Linked DNA regions of Homo sapiens: region 2 is linked to region 1. Evidence: promoter capture Hi-C in 16 types of primary human blood cells and fetal thymus (Javierre and others, 2016). All regions are on one chromosome and are shown on one strand. Each heading gives the region's core, a stretch centred on a gene start or on the middle of the fragment in contact. The rest is flanking DNA. Distances are from core to core; before and after follow the strand shown.

Region 1 (7,694 bases), core at 1,460-3,959:
AAGTGTGGCACATCCCACTACCCCCGCCGCCATGTAAGACGTGCCTTGCTTCCCCTTTGCCTTCCGCCATGATTGTAAGTTTCCTAAGGTCTCCCCAGTCATGTGTAACTGTGAGTCAATGAAACCTCTTTTCTTTATAAATTACCCAGCTTCAGGTAAGTTCTTCATATTAATAGCAGTGGGAAAACAAACAAACACAGTGACCTTATTTGATCAAACATGATGATGATCGACTAAAGATGAGGTCACTAGGGTGGTCCCTAATCCAACAGGGATGTTGCAGAAGAGACCCACCTGGAGAAGGTCGTGTGAAGATGGAGGCAGGGATGGGAGCAGTGCATGAGCAAGCCCAGGACACCAAGCAGGCCTGGCAGAGCAAGACATGCGTCAACCCTCAGGGCTGCAGAGGGAGCATGGCCCTGCACACTCCTTGATTTTGCACTTCTGGCCTCCAGGGCTATGAGGAAACACGTTTCTGTTGTTTTTAAAACAGTTGTTGTTTTTAAAACCAGTTTGTGATGCATTGTGACAGAAGCCCCAGGAAACTCATCCATACTGAGTGAAATTTGTTTATTGTCTAAAATACAGTCCCTCCATCATCTATCCCTCCTATCATTTCTGGAATTTATAGACATCCAAGTCACTCCCCATATCCACAGAAGGCTCAGGCACCTGGTTCAGAATCCTCATTGTCCTGCCAGCTCCCACCAGCAGTCTGCAGCCTCGGCCCCAGCCAGTGTCACTTCATCCCATTCCCTGGACATCTGGTTCCAGGACCACAGCTCCATCCTTGGCGTGGTCCAGAACTTGCTCCTACCTCTCTCCCCCATTCTCCCTCTTTCTCCCCCCCATTCTCTCTCCCTCTCTTTCTCATTCTCCCTTCTCCTCCCTCTTTCTCCCTCCCTCTCTCTGGAATCTCTGGTTCCAGTTGCCCATCACTGACTACAGCTTGCAGCTGTCCAGGTATTTCTCATCTACATCCACTCAGCTCCCTCCCGGCCTCTGTTCTTCCTCCCTCAGGGGTATTCTCCCACTCACCAGCACCTGTTGGATCCGCGGCCATTTCTAACCGGACTGGATACTTGGACCTCAAGGTCCCCGCTGGTAAGATAGCTGGGAGACACTCGTCTGTAGGTCCCTCTGGCAGGTCTTGCTGGGCGTGCCAAGAACACATTGCCCTGACCACTCTTTTCTGGGCCATTTCTCACGCCTGTGCTTGCAGTGGGCACCCTTGCCGGGGAGACAGCCTCCCTGTGGGACAAAGACCACATTGGTCCACAGGATCCAGGGTCCTGTTTTGTAGTGCACCCGCTGTGGTGCAACATGCGTCTGGGCACACCAGCGTCGCCCGTTTCCTGTTGTAGTCTTTCCTCTCTGACTCCAGGGGTATTGGGTCTTTCTGCCAGCGCCCATGCAACTTTGGCAGCCTGGCCTGTCTGCTGGCAAGTGGGGCAGAATCCCTGCACTCCACCATTCTTGGGCAACACTCCCTCTAGGATTTTGGCCTCCCTTTTCTCTCTGGTCTTTGACCACCGCTACCCAGCAAACTCCTCCATCTAGACCAGCCAGCATTGGTTTCTTCCACTCCCCCAGCTGCCGCGTGGGAGGCGCCACTGCAAACTTCCCTGGGGTCTCCCAGCTGCTCAGAGATCCCCATGCCCTTCCCTGATCAGCTCCCTGCCCGGTTCTCATCCCGGCGATTCTAAACCGTCCATCTTTACAAATACTCCGCTCCATCCCCACTCCCTGACTGAAGTAAACAGATGTATCCTGAACTCCTCATTCTCCCCCCATCTCACTCTCCTCGCCTGTGTGCACCTCGCCTCGTGTGTCTTCCTCACCTCCGAGCAGAGGGATCTGTCCTCCTGCCCGAAGGTAACCCTGACCCCTGGACTCTGCGCCTCCTTCCCGCAGCCTCCACCAGATTGCGGGTCCGTTCACCGCCCCCCTCCACACGCGCTGGGGGCACCTCCGGGAGCTGGGGCTAGCGCAGGGCACACACATGTTCCACCTCGAACTGCGAGCGCTGACCGGGATCTCTGGGCAGCCCTCTCTGTGTGCACTGGCTTGCTGAAGGCTCGCGACAGCCTGGGCCCGGGCGCGCATTCCAGCACTTTCTACCCTCCGGCTTCAGAGTGCATTGCTCTGTGGATCCGTCACGAATAAGCCGTGTGTGAAGAACGCCAGGTCCCGGCAGAAGATCGCTGCCCGGCGTGCGAACTCCCCCACGGTGCACCAGGGCCGCCGCCCTGCATCCTCCAACCTCAGCTCCCCGGCACCGCGACCCTCCGTGCAGTGCGAGCCCCCGATGGGCGCGCGCCCCCACCTGCGCTCCAGAAGGCCGAAGGGGGCATCCCACTTGCAGGGCGGGTCACCCGCTTTCCCCGCGGGCCAAGGGGCTCCAAGATTCCCAGCCCCTCCTTCCCAGCCGCTCCGCGACACCCTGGCAACCGGCTTCGGCCCCGCCCCTTCTCGTTGTGTAAACAGGAAGTGAGCCTGCGCGTGACGGTCGCTTCCGGCCCGGCGAGGGGCGGGAGCGATTGTGAACGGCGGCGGGGCAGAGCCAATCGCGGAAAACGGCAGGAGGAGAGCCAATCCCGAGGGTCGGCGGACGCGGGAAGGGGCGGAGCCAGAGGCGGGGCCGGCAAGGCGGAGCCAATCGCGGCGGTCCGCGGGGCGGGGCCGGGGGCGCGGCCGGGTGGTGGCGGTGGCTGCGGCGACGGCGGTCGCGTCGGCGTCAGGGTCGGGGTCGGTAAGGGGTGCGGCAATGCTGCAACTGCGGGACTCGGTGGACTCGGCCGGTACGAGCCCCACGGCGGTGCTGGCGGCCGGCGAGGAGGTGGGGGCAGGCGGCGGCCCGGGCGGGGGGCGGCCGGGGGCGGGGACGCCGCTGCGCCAGACACTCTGGCCTCTCAGCATCCACGACCCCACGCGCCGCGCCCGCGTCAAGGAGTACTTCGTGTTCCGGGTGAGGCAGGGGCCAGGGCCGGGGCGGGGGCCGAGGGCGCGGGGCGGGATGGGGGCGGGTGGGGTCGGAGGCGGGCGCCGGGCGGTCCCGCAGGGAGCGAGCTGTGACCTGTGATCTTTGCCCCCGTCCCCCACCCCGCAACCCGCCCAGCCCGGCAGCATCGAGCAGGCAGTGGAGGAGATCCGCGTGGTGGTGCGGCCCGTGGAGGACGGCGAGATCCAGGGAGTGTGGCTGCTTACCGAGTAAGCCGGGGCTGCGCTCTCCTTGGTGGGGGGACTCGCCCCGAGCCGCCGCGCAGCACCTTGCGAGGACTTCCCGGGGTGCTCGTGCCACGCTCAGGCGCCCCGTGCCGCCCCTGCTGCCCTTCCAGGCGGGCTGGCCTTGGCTAAGTCGAGACAGCCGCGTCCAGTGTGGACTGAGGCCCCTCCTCTGCCTACAGGGTGGATCACTGGAACAATGAGAAGGAGCGGCTGGTGCTGGTCACGGAGCAGTCCCTGCTTATCTGTAAATACGACTTCATCAGTCTCCAGTGCCAGCAGGTGGTGCGGATAGCGCTCAACGCAGTAGACACCATTTCCTACGGAGAATTCCAGTTTCCCCCTAAATCGCTCAACAAGTAAGCCTGTTCAGAGTCCAGTATCACTGGACCTAAGCACCAGAGTGGACCTTACAATTCAGCCCTTTTAAATCAGCCCCCCAAGCGGTGTGTCTTCTCTGTCATTAATTATAAGCACAAAGGCTCCAGCTCCAAATATCAATGGGAAGTTCCTTAAAAAGAAGCGACTTCTGGGCAATTGAGTGCATTAAAAGGAATTCTGGCACAGAAGGCAGCTATTAGGCTGGTAGTAAAAAGACTTACATGAGTTCAGGATGCATTGAAGTAGAGCCCAGCGTGTTAAAAAGGAACTTGGATGTTCTTCAGGAAAAGTCCAAACTCTGCATTTTTCTCCAGCCAGGGACAGATTGCATATGACACATCAAGTCTTGCTCTGGCTAATTTTTTAAAGAGAAATGGAGGGTCCCGTTGTAATTTATAGATACCACTAAAAGACAAATTTGGAAATATTTAATGACCAGCTTTCAGGAGTTGATCTTTTTGCTGTAGGATAATTTTCTGACGTGAGGAACCTAAACATTACTACAGTCAGTTAAGCTGTAGAACTTGGGTTTTTGATGGAGAGATTTGGATGGGGGATTCAGGAAGCTAAAATAAAAATTTTACCTTTTGGTTAAAACATTTAATATGACATAAGGAAAAGGAAGATTACACTTCCTTTTCACTCATTTGGCTAGCCTATCTATAATTATTCCCTTTTTTTTTTTTTTTTGAGACGGAGTCCCACTCTGTCACCCAGGCACCAGTGGTGCAGTCTTGGTTCACTGCATCCTCCACCTCCTAGGCTTAAGTGATCCTCTCACCTCAGCCTCCCAAGTAGCTAGGACTACAGGTGCCCGCCACCACACCCAGCTAATTTTTGTATTTTTTGTAGAGATGGGGTTTTGCTAGGTTGCCCAGGCTGTTCTCAAACTCCTGGGCTCAAGAGATCCGCCCATTTTGGCCTCCCAAAGCGCTGGGATTATAGATGTCAGCCACCGTGCCCAGCCAGTATTCCTGTTTATTAATTTTTAATCATGTAAAGATTACCAAAATAATACATTTAATAACCAAAATATACCTAATTTGTCATATTTATACCCACAGTATTTAAAGCAATTGTTAGTGGAGATTGAAGTTACTACTAAAAACCACAGGCCGGCCAGGCACGGTGGCTCACGCCTGTAATCCCAGCACCTTGGGAGGCTGAGGCGGGCGGATCACCTGAGGTCAGGAGTTTGAGACCAGCCTGACCAAAATGGATAAACCCTGTCTCTACTAAAAATACAAAATTAGCTGGGTGTGGTGGTGCATGCCTGTAATCCCAGCTACTCCGGAGGCTGAGTTGGGAGAATCGCTTGAACCCAGGAGGTGGAGGATGCAGCGAGCCAACATCAGGCCACTACACTCAAGCCTGGGCAACAAGAGCAAAACTCCATCTCAAAAAATAAAAATAAATAAAAACAAAAATAAAAACTACAAGCCGTTTTCCATTGTGATATGTCATAGGTCTTTTCTGTAAACGTGTGCTTTTTGCTGTCATATTCTCCTAACTGATGAGACTGTCAGATTGTCCATGAGAGCACTGTGGCCTGCCATGCTAAGTCTGGCTATTTCTTCTGACTTTTCAGGCGAGAAGGTTTTGGGATTCGAATTCAGTGGGACAAGCAAAGTCGTCCTTCCTTCATAAACAGATGGAATCCCTGGTCTACCAACGTGCCCTATGCCACTTTCACAGAACACCCGATGGCTGGCGCAGATGAGAAGACAGCATCTCTGTGTCAGGTAAGAAGACAGGCACATAAATAGCCGCGCCCCCCGCAGTGATGGAAACACCCCCCGCAGTCACGGAGACACTTCAGGTCTGCACTGTCCGGCGGCCACGCGGAGCTGCCGAGCACTTGAGACGTGGCTAGAAATGAGAGAGGAAGCTCTCATTTTAGAGTTGATTCCCTAAGTTGTCAGAAATTCTGGTTAATTTATGTTAAAGTAGCCGCATGTGGCCAGTGGCTGCTGGTTAGCATAGCTCCATAATGTGGCCTCCTGATGGTGATCTGGGTGGGGAAGGGCCCCAGCTGGGCTTCAGAGAGTGGCAGCAGACCCAGCCGTGCCAGATGACCAGTGCGGATGCGCACCAGGAGAGGAGGCCTCGGGGCTGGGGTTAGAGCAGAGCCCAGAGCCCAGAGCCTGGCGGGGGTCCTGCACTTCCCCAGCTGTGTGCCTCGGCCTGGTTACTGACCTGGTAGGTTGGGTGACGGCAAAGCCACTCAGCCCTGTATACAGGAAGGGTTCTGCAGGTGCTGGCTGCCATTGGCCACAGGAGAGCATGGTGGCAAGATTTCCACACACCTAGAGAGCTCCGTGGGGACGAGAGTTGAGAGACCCCCAGGATGTGGCAGAGGCAGCCCTTTCAAGTGAAGGGACGAAGAGATAGGCGGCATTTGGAGGGATTTAAGTGTCTCAGAATGCTAATTTTTTCAAGTAATAGACATTCTTATCTTGCCTGACAGTTAAAGCTCCATGTTTTTCTCTCTTTAAAGTTGGAAAGCTTCAAGGCTCTGTTAATCCAAGCTGTCAAAAAAGCCCAAAAAGAAAGCCCTTTGCCAGGACAGGCGAATGGCGTGCTGATCCTGGAGCGCCCCCTGCTCATCGAGACCTACGTGGGACTCATGTCCTTCATTAACAACGAGGCGAAACTGGGCTACTCCATGACCAGGGGCAAAATAGGCTTTTAGCCGCTGCGTTCTGGGAGCTCCTCCCCCTTCTGGGAGCTCCTCCCCCTCCCCAGAAGGCCAAGGGATGTGGGGGCTGGGGGACTGGGAGGCCTGGCAGTCTTCATGCTGCCCTGCTGCTGCTGGAAGGATGGGGATCTTTCACCTTTAGGGATCTCAGCACAATTAGAATCGTAAAGTGAATTCTATCTATTTAATTGGATATTGGACTCTGCTCATATAAGCTACAGACAAAAGCCAAAAGACTCTCGCTGTCCCTGTGCTGCTGGTATTTCATTCTCTGTAACTTCAGTTCTGGTGTTTTCCTTGAGTATCTACTTGGCTTCTCGTGGTTTTTCCCACCCCAGCTGCCCCAGCACGCGGGACCCATAGCACACCCCTTAGCGCTTGCCTAGGTTGCTGAAAACAGGGAGGCACCTGGTATCTCGAGTGCCTGCAGTTGCAAGTATGTTTACACCTGGTGTCCAATTTTGTATTTTAAAATGTAATCCATTTTTACTTCAGCTCATCCAAAAGCAGCCAGCAGACCGGTTGACTGAGACCGGTCTGTGGCTGTGGGCCCCTTGGTGACCCGCTGCTCTTTTGGAAATGGGTGACCTGAAGTGACACTTTTTCCACAATTAACCCAAGTTGTGTTAATACTTCAGGTCTGTTTCCCAGACCCAGAAAGCTTTACAGAAAATCATTGTAAGACAATTTATTAATTTGAGAAAGTCACCTTGACAGTTCTTTGCACACAAGTTTTACACCTCTCTGGATTCGAAGTTTGTATTGTATTCATAGTTAAAGGGAATCGGGTACTTTGCTTGTTGAATAATGCACTTTAAAACAAGGAACCGTATCAGGCCAGCATGGTGGCTCATGCCTGTAATCCCAGCATTTTGGGAGGCTCAGGCAGACAAATCGCTCTAGCTCAGAAGTTGCAGAGCAGCCTGGGCAACATGGTGAAACCCGTCTCTACCAAACAGACAAAAAGCAGCCAGGCGTGGTGGCACATCTGTGGTCCCAGCTACTTGAGAGGCTGAGCCAGGAGGATCGCTTGAGCCCAGGAGGCGGAGGTTGCAGTGAGCTGAGATGGCACCACTTATTGCACTCCAGCCCGGGCGACAGAGCGAGACTCCATCTACCAGATCCTTATGACGCAGCTGATGCCTGCCTTGGTTCCTACCACTCTGGTGTAGACAGAGGACTTTGTCCAAGTCTCACACTAAACATGCCCGGGCTTCGATGTGCCTGGAGGATTTCCCCACAGGGACCCACGCACCTCCCTGTATCTGCGCAGCTTGCTCGTGTGGCTGGAAGCGCTGTCGATAAGCTTCACGCACTGGCTTGCCAGTTCTTCAGCTCTAGGACTTGTAGCTTTAAGCAAACGGTGTGGCATGGGTTGAGTGTGGCCACC
Region 2 (7,694 bases), core at 658-3,157, 990 kb before region 1:
AGATATGAGACATCAATCAACACATGTAAGATAGAGTTACATTCTTTTGAGTTTCTGATGAGCCTTTCCAAAGAAGGCAATCAGATATGCATCTATCTCAGCGAGCGGGGGAATGACTTTGAATGGAATTGGAGGCAGGCTTGCCCTAAGCAGTTCCCAGCTTGACTTTTCCCTTTGGCTTAGTGATTTTGGGGCCCCAAGATTTATTTTCCTTTTACTCTCCTAAAAAGGTTTTTTTTTTTTCTTTTTTTTCCAGATTGATCGCAGAGTTGAACAACAGAGAATGTGTGCACAGTGCCAGGCACAGGTGTGGTCAAGATTCACCTGGGAGAGGAAGTGGGCAGGGGCAGAGGAGTGTGCCCACCTGAGCTGAAAGGCTGCATGGCAGGTGACCATTATCACCAGTGTCGCCAGCCAGGTCACCTCTCTGAATTTTGTGGTTGCAACCTCCATGATTCCCTAGAGCTGTTTTTACCCAGAACTAATGAAAAATTCTGCACATTAAATTCATGCTATTAGAATCACTGTTGTGGTTTCCATCTCCCAAGTAGACCCCAACTGATACATAAATTCATACTAGGAGGGGGTCCCCAGAGACAGGCCCTCAAAGTGACACAGTCAGGTACCTCTTTGGTCACTTTGCCAGCCAGGTACCTCTGGCTGCTGACACCCCCCCTCCCCAGGCCTCTCTTGGCCATGCTACCTGCCGCAGGAGGTGGCCCACCCACTCAGCCTGCCTGGGCCACACCTGGCTGTTCACCAGCTCAGCCTGTGGCTGGGCTGGGCATGTTCCAGCCTGCTTGTGTTATAGCTTGTACCCATGTATGGCAGTTCCCAAGTTCTTGTCCCGTGTCCAAGAAGAATGAGGAGATGCTGCCAATCGAAGTGTGAGAAGGGCAGAGAAGAATTTTATTGAGAGACGGAACAGCTCTCAGCAGAGAGGGGATGCACGGGTGGTTCCCGACCTGAAGTCAGGTGGTTTCTCTCCTAGTGTGGCTGGGTCCGGGGCATTTATGGGCTCAGAATGGGGGAGTGCATGCTGATTGGCTTCTGATTATGCAAAAAAGGCTTAAACAAAGGTACCACTCAAAGGTGGGCATGCCAGTGTAGAAAATGAATTAGGAAAAGATAGGTACATGTAAAATAGGTGAAGGGTGGGGATCAATCAGAGGAAAGCAGCCAAATGGGAAGATGGGTTCTCAATCCAGGCTGAGGATTTAATTTGTAGCTTGGCTTTCAGGCTTTAAACTGTCTTTGGCTCGGAGGTGGGGTTTCACTGGGAACCTGTCCCTGTCTGCCTAGGATTTGTCTGCCTCCTGTCACTATCAAAAGGTGGGGTCCGGGGATTAGGTTAGTGTGGTTGTTGCTTGGGCTGGGCTGCAGGCCGATCTCCTGGCCAGTGGGAAGGGGAGGCTGTTGGCCCACAGTGTTGTTGGGGGAGCTTCACAGTTAACCAAGCCATCCCCCATGCTGGCTGTGAGGCACCAGCAGAATTGAGGGCCTCGGGAACCCACGTGCTGCTGTGTGAGGCTGTCACGGCCACGAGGATGACCACAACCACGAGGGCTGTGGGGGGTCCCCTGAGTGTCCAGCAGCACTAACAGGAAGGAACCACACGTTCAGGTCTCTAAACTCAGTTTAAGTCATAGACAGAGAATCAGGACTGCCATGGCCATGGAAGAGTCCCTTGTTCCTGAGAGCCTCGGGGCTGCTGCTGCTACAACTCGGATGCACAGTTTAACTCTGAGTTGTGTGACTGCTGTGTGGCTCACACTCACAGCCTCACTACTGAAACGTGGGCACTGAGTGGGAAGGAACTGGATGCTGAAGCTTGGCATGGGGATGTCTGGTTGGGCTCAGATGAAGCTGAGAATTGTGAACCCCCTGGTTCTCTGAGCCTCTCCTTCCAGGGGAAGCAGCTTGTCCTCCAAGATCTGAGAGTAGCCTTTATTTATTTTTTTTGTTCTGCTTGAAAATGCTGTGATAAGCTTACCTGGCCAGGTGCCTAGAAATGATGCTCATTTTATTTAACCACCATAGCCACCCTGTTGCCTCTAGAACCTCAGTGTACTCCCAGGGAGGGGAAGGGTCAAGTACAAAGCCTGACTCAGGAAGGAACCACTTTCACACCAAAATGCTCGTAAGATGTTACAAATTCACACACGGAGACCTGGGAACCGTGTGGGAATGGAGGGTAGGGTATTAATGCAGCTGGACCGGCTTGGCTTTATTGATGCAGGTACACTTACTAGAGATTCTGAATTTAATGCGCTAGCTCACATTAGCTGCTGGAAATGACTCTACCAGTTTACTTGGTTGAATGAAATCTGGATTTGCTGGCGGTCTACAGTTAATGAAGGGGAGATGCTGGAATGTCCCTGGTGTAACGTCGAGGCAGGAATCGTGCAAAGCAAGGGCCACCCTCCGTCCCAGCCTGATTTCTCTCCACCTCCAGCTGAGCACTGAGGAAGACGCAGGCCGGGGACTGCCCAGGGAAGTGGTGGATCTGCAGACAGCGTGAGCTCCTGGAGCGTCAGGACCCAGAGCAGCTGTGGACATGCCCCTCCAGGCGGGACACCCAGGCCTCAGGGACGAGTGCGTCCATGCCTTAAGGGCTGCTGGTTGTGGGTGTCTGCTTGGTCCTGGAGAAACTACCTCAGGAAAAGCCAGGGCTGGACCCCAGCAGGGATGGGATAAGGGGAACCGAGACTCACCCACTGTGCTCAGGGCAGAGGTGGTGGGCCGCGGGAACGGGCATGTCTTTGTCTATCTGGACTGCCCCAACAGAATAGCAGAGACAGGTGGTTCATCAACAGATACTTATTTCTCACAGTTCTGGAGGCTGGAAGCCCAAGATGAAGGTGCCAGCTCGCTCTCTAGTGAGGATCCCTTCCTGGTTCACAGACAGCTTCTCACTGGGTCTCCACATGGTGGAGGGGCTTGGGAGAACTCTGGGGTCTCTTTTATAAGGACACTAATCCCACTCATGAGGTTCCACCCCTGGTCATCTCCCAAAAGCCCCACTTCTGATACCATAACCTTGGGGGTTAGGATCGCAACACATAAAGTTTGGGGGAATGCAGACATTCAGAGCCCAGCAAGGAGCCAGGCCAAAGGCTGATGAGAGATACCTGCTGGGTGAGCTGGTGGTAGAGGGGGCAGCCCCCTGGTGGGGGAGAAACACAGCGATCCTGAGGTCCAGGAGGAGCCTCAGCGGGGCTGGCATCTACACTCAGCCTTGCACGGATGGATGGGGCAGGACATCCCAGGCGAGGAGGACGGTAGGAGCAGGGAACGTGGTGGGGAAGGGCACCCCTAGGGGACGCCTCCCCACTGCCTCCACCTGGCCCCGACATTGGAGCAGGCCCTTCTGCTGTGACCAGGCTCTCTGGACCAGCCCTTGCCTCCTCTGCCTCAGTGCCGACTGGCCCACCTGACCCGAGGAACTTGCGTGTCCCTGAACTTAGCTCTTGGGCTGCTGACAGGTGTTTGTTGAGTCCTTGAGCACACGGGTGAAGACAGGGAGGGAAGGGTGGATGGGGAGCTGGCAGGCGGAAGATGGATCAAATTGGTGCCTGCGCTGGGGAACCCCGGAAGAGGGGGACTGCGTGAAGATTCCGAGCGGGGAAGGCGAGGAGCGGGGCTGAAGGTCCCTGTCAGGGCCCTCTCCCACTGTGGGCTGCCCATCCCCGAGGTACTCAAGGTGGGAGGCACTGACCCTTTACCCAGACCCCTGTGGCCAGAGACACATAGGCGGTGCCAGCTGATGAAGGTGCATGGGGGTTGAGGAGTGGGTGAGGCCTGAGGAGGAGGGGGGCTACCCAGCCCTGCACCTGCCGCCTGGGGGCCCCACTTCCATGCAGGGCGAGGAATAGGGCCCCTCCCTGCCTGACCCCCTGGACTGGGGTTCGTCAGATGATCCCAGAAGCGAAGTGGGTGGAGAGGCAGGGGGTCTATCTGTGGGTTCAAGACCATGGAAGGAAGCGGCAGAGAAGGGGACAGAAATGGGACAAATGCAAGTGCCCAGGAGGAGAGAGAAGCCAGGAGGGGGGGTCGTGGCCCTGTCTCCCCAGGGTGAAGTCAGGCAGGGCTTGGGGGCACGTTTTGCACCGAGTCAGCTCACCCAGCATGTCTCTCGCCCATGGCCATGAGAGAAAGCCCCGGGCTGAGGCCTCAGTCTGTGACACTCACAGTGATGGGCAAAGGCTGGCTGCCTCTGCCCCACCCAGAAGTCCCCAAGCTCACTGGCAGCTGCAAGGCCTGGGGACATTTAACGCACGTATAAGAACAAGCTGTTCTCTCGCTCTGTGGAAGCACTGATACCTCCCAGCAGCTTCGGGAGACAGGTCTGGTGGGAGCCTGGGGACTGTGCTCATCAGGGCCCCTCGGTGGTCCCTCTGCTTGGAAGGGAGGGGCCTGTGGAGGAGGGAGGAAGTTTACCCCCAGCACACTGGATTCTCGATGAAGGGCCCCCATGAAAGCACCCTGAAAGGTCAGCTTGGGGTATGGGCTGGCTGGGCCCATTTGGGAGCTCTGTCTCTGGAGAGGGCTCAGGCTCTACTGGAGGCTGGCCCAAGGCTCAGGGTCCAAGCAAAACGCAGCTTCACACCCAGGGAGGGGCTTCTGGGGCTGGTACCATCTCCCCAAGGGCCCCAGGAGTCTGGCCTCAAACCTGTCCAACCTGTAGGATCCCAGGCCAGGGACGAGACCTGGGGCTGCTTCTTCAAGGTCTGAGCCCCAGGTGTGGGCCAAGAGGGCCCCAACTGCAGGGACCAGGTTGCTGGTGGTAGAAGGGACTGTGAAGCTTCTAGGATGGTCCCTTCATGCAAGTAGGAAGCTGTCCCCTGTCCTTCCCAAGGCAGAGGTGTGAGGCTGGCTGTCCAACACTGACTCATGCTGGGGCAGGGAAGCGGGGTGTGGGGAGGGCAGGGAAGGGGGGTGTGGGGAGGGCTGGGAAGGGAGGTATGGGGAGGGCTGGGAAGGGAGGTATGGGGAGGGCTGGGAAGGTGGTGTGGGGAGGGCTGGGAAGGGGGAGGGCTGGGAAGGGGTGTGTGGGGAGGGTGGGAAGGGGGGCTGTGGGGAGGGTTGGGAAGGGGGGTTGTGGGGAGGGTTGGGAAGGGGTGTGTGGGGAGGGCTGGGAAGGGGGTGTGGAGAGGGCAGGGCAGGTACCTCCCCGATTTAGGGAGCTGGGTACACCCCTGGGCCTGGACATCAGGTGCAGATGCTAGGGTGGCCCCGTGATTAGGGCTGGGAGAGGGTCAGGCCCAGTCACTGTAGCCAGCAGCCTGAGGATGCCTCCCTCCGGATTCTGGCCTTCAGTCTCTTCAGGCCACGGTGGTCGGGGTCCACCAGGAGGCCGCTCTCTACCGCCGTCCAGGCCTCTGCGTGACGCTGCTCCTCCAGGCAGCACTGCCCGCGGAGAAGGAACATGCGTGCAGTGGGGGCCCGGCCTGGCTGCCTGCACAGGCTGTTCTGGGCCAAGGAGGGCGCCAGCTTCAGGGCCTGGGCAAAGGCCCCTGCGGCCGCCGCCTCATCCCCCAGGCTCAGCAGCAGGCGACCCTGACGGCAGAAGTCCTCTGCCCGCCTTGGGAGGTCACCATCCCCCAGCGCCTCCTGGAGCACATGGTCCAGGTCCCTAAGGGCCCGGCCAAACTCCTGCAACTCGGCCAGGCAGGTGGCCCGCAGACGCAGGTGACAGGCACTGCTGCCACTGGCCAGGACAGACAGCGAACAGTAGCCCAGCGCCTGCCTGGGTTGCCCTGCGTCCAGGAGGGTGCCGGCTTCCTGGGCCGCCGCCTGCACAGAGGACACAGAGAGAGGCAGGGAGAGTGGGGTCAGCCCCAAAAGCCCGGCCGCCCCTGCCCTGCAGAGGTCCTCTGCACAGCCAGCTTCTGCTGGCTCCCTGGGGATGGCGGGGCCCTGGGCTGCACAGGAGCTGCCCGCTGCTTCTGGAGGGGCTGGCTGACCATGGGCAAGGGCAGGAAGGGGGACCCAGGGTAGAGGACCCCTCCCTGCAATTCCCACTGCCCTGGAACCTGCCAAAGTGCTGTTCCGACCCTTGGCCCAAGGCCTGGCATCCTTGCCCACTGCTCTTCTCCCTGGGCCTCGGATCAGGGACCTGGATTTACCTCCTCATGGTCCCCTCCTGGCAGCCCTACCGCCCCACCGGCTGGGCCCAGGTTCCCTTGACTGGGTGACCACACCGGCCTCCTCCCTCGGTCCCTCTGGGCCAAGTCACCTCTCCATCGGGCCCTCTGAGGGGGCTGCTGCCCAGCCCTTCCACTCTGCCCACCTTCTGAAGGCTGCTCCAGGCCTCTGAGCACGTGCACCCTAGCCCCTCTCCCTGGGGCTGCTGGACGGAGGGCACAGCCTGTGCTGTGGGCTGCTGCTGGCCAGGCCTGCCTGCCCCCCCCACTCCTCCCGGGCACTTTCCTGAGCCCACCCAGGCCCAATCGCCTCATCTCTGACCCAGTTTTTTCACAGAGTCAACCACGACCAGAAATCCGCTCGCCTCGCTGGGCTCCTCCTCCGCTCAAGAATCTGCAGGGGTTCCCCGCTGCCTGAGGAACACGCCAAGGTGCAGGCCCCGCCTTTCTCGCTGGCGCTGCCTCTCTTCCAGCAGCCCGGCGGTCCTCGACGCTACCTCCCCCGGGGGGCGCAGCGCACCCAGGACCCCGCCAGGCTTGGCCGCACGGGGCGAAGCCGAGGCCCACGCCCGGGGTCCGTGCAGGGAGCGAGGGGGTCCCACGGCCCCGGCTTTGCTGCTGGGCTCCCGCAGGGCACAGTGTGGCCTCTTCTGCCAGCTGTGAGCGGCGCTGAGCAGGGCAGGGGCTCGAAACCCCGTCCCTCGCCTGCGGTGCGGCCCGCGGGACCGCCCCTCTCCGGGCGGAGGCACCTGACCCCGACCCGTAGTTCACGGCCCGGGGTGGTAGTGAAGCCTCGGCCCGCGCAGGACCCGCACATTTGGGCCGGGTCCATGGCAGCAGGAGGGCGAGGCCCCGAGCAGCTGTCGGACCCCGGGAGCCCCCAGGCCGCCCCAGTGGGGAAGGGCGCTCAATCCGACCCCAGACTCCCCTGAGCCCGCGGCTCGGGCCGCGCAGGCGCAGTGCCACCCGGAGGGGGCCGCCTGCCGAGGGGCGGGGCGCAGGAAGCGGGGCGAAACCACTGTTGGCTCATTTCCGGGTGGGTCCCCGTCTCCAGGCAACCATTTCGCGTCCTGCAGATTCTTGCCTGTGCCGGGAGCCGCCTCCTGGCGCCGCAGCCCAGCCGTATTCTGCAGCCTCGGAGACCCGCGTCCAGCCCCGCCTCCGGGCTCGGTGACCCCCGTTCAGGAGACCCCATCTAGCCGCCTCCTCTGGGCTCCGGGACCATGGCCCCAGCCAGGCTTCCCGCCCCCTGCCAGGCCCTGCTCCCACCTCGAAGACCCCAGCACAGACCCCTCCTCCTGGCTTGGAAACGCCCAGTCCCTCTGGGAGCTCTGAGACCCCACCCCGCCCAGCCCGGCCGCCTCCTCTAGGTCCCGATAACCCAATCTCAGCGTTGCTCTTCAGCTCGGGGGGGGCAGCGGCGCCCCCTCTGCAGCACCGAACTGCCCCTTACACTGGTGTAGCCCCGACTCCGCCATGAGCTCCCTGTTCTTCCTAGTGTGGTTTCTGTTTTCCTAAGTGGCCCCGGAGTGCTAGAACCCGCTGGTG

Evidence for each region. The method cuts DNA at HindIII sites, captures the fragments that hold promoters and counts their contacts. A CHiCAGO score of 5 or more calls a contact.
Region 2: a contact is called between a fragment that was not itself captured here and the fragment with the promoter of TPRG1L in region 1, in 1 of 17 cell types (total B cells). The highest score is 6.1, in total B cells.

Annotation. Positions count from the first base shown.
Region 1 is chr1:3,622,306-3,629,999 of GRCh38, forward strand. It overlaps TPRG1L (tumor protein p63 regulated 1 like), which reads left to right and starts at 2,710. Exons shown (of 5, transcript NM_182752.4): 1 at 2,710-2,968; 2 at 3,119-3,210; 3 at 3,408-3,584; 4 at 5,195-5,348; 5 at 6,104-7,694. The coding sequence starts at 2,768. The coding sequence ends at 6,298. It also overlaps a transcript of MEGF6 not described here. RefSeq lists enhancers at 1,984-2,103, 3,084-3,746 and a silencer at 2,554-2,783. The HindIII fragment of the contact is 13,719 bases long and covers 1-6,109 here.
Region 2 is chr1:2,636,100-2,643,793 of GRCh38, forward strand. It overlaps TTC34 (tetratricopeptide repeat domain 34), which reads right to left. Exons shown (of 9, transcript NM_001242672.3): 9 at 887-5,796. The coding sequence ends at 5,269. It overlaps MMEL1-AS1 (MMEL1 antisense RNA 1), which reads left to right. Exons shown (of 3, transcript NR_183343.1): 3 at 257-521. Among named protein-coding and RNA genes, the nearest start is that of MMEL1, 6.9 kb to the left of the region's middle. RefSeq lists a silencer at 1,938-2,138. The HindIII fragment of the contact is 158 bases long and covers 1,829-1,986 here.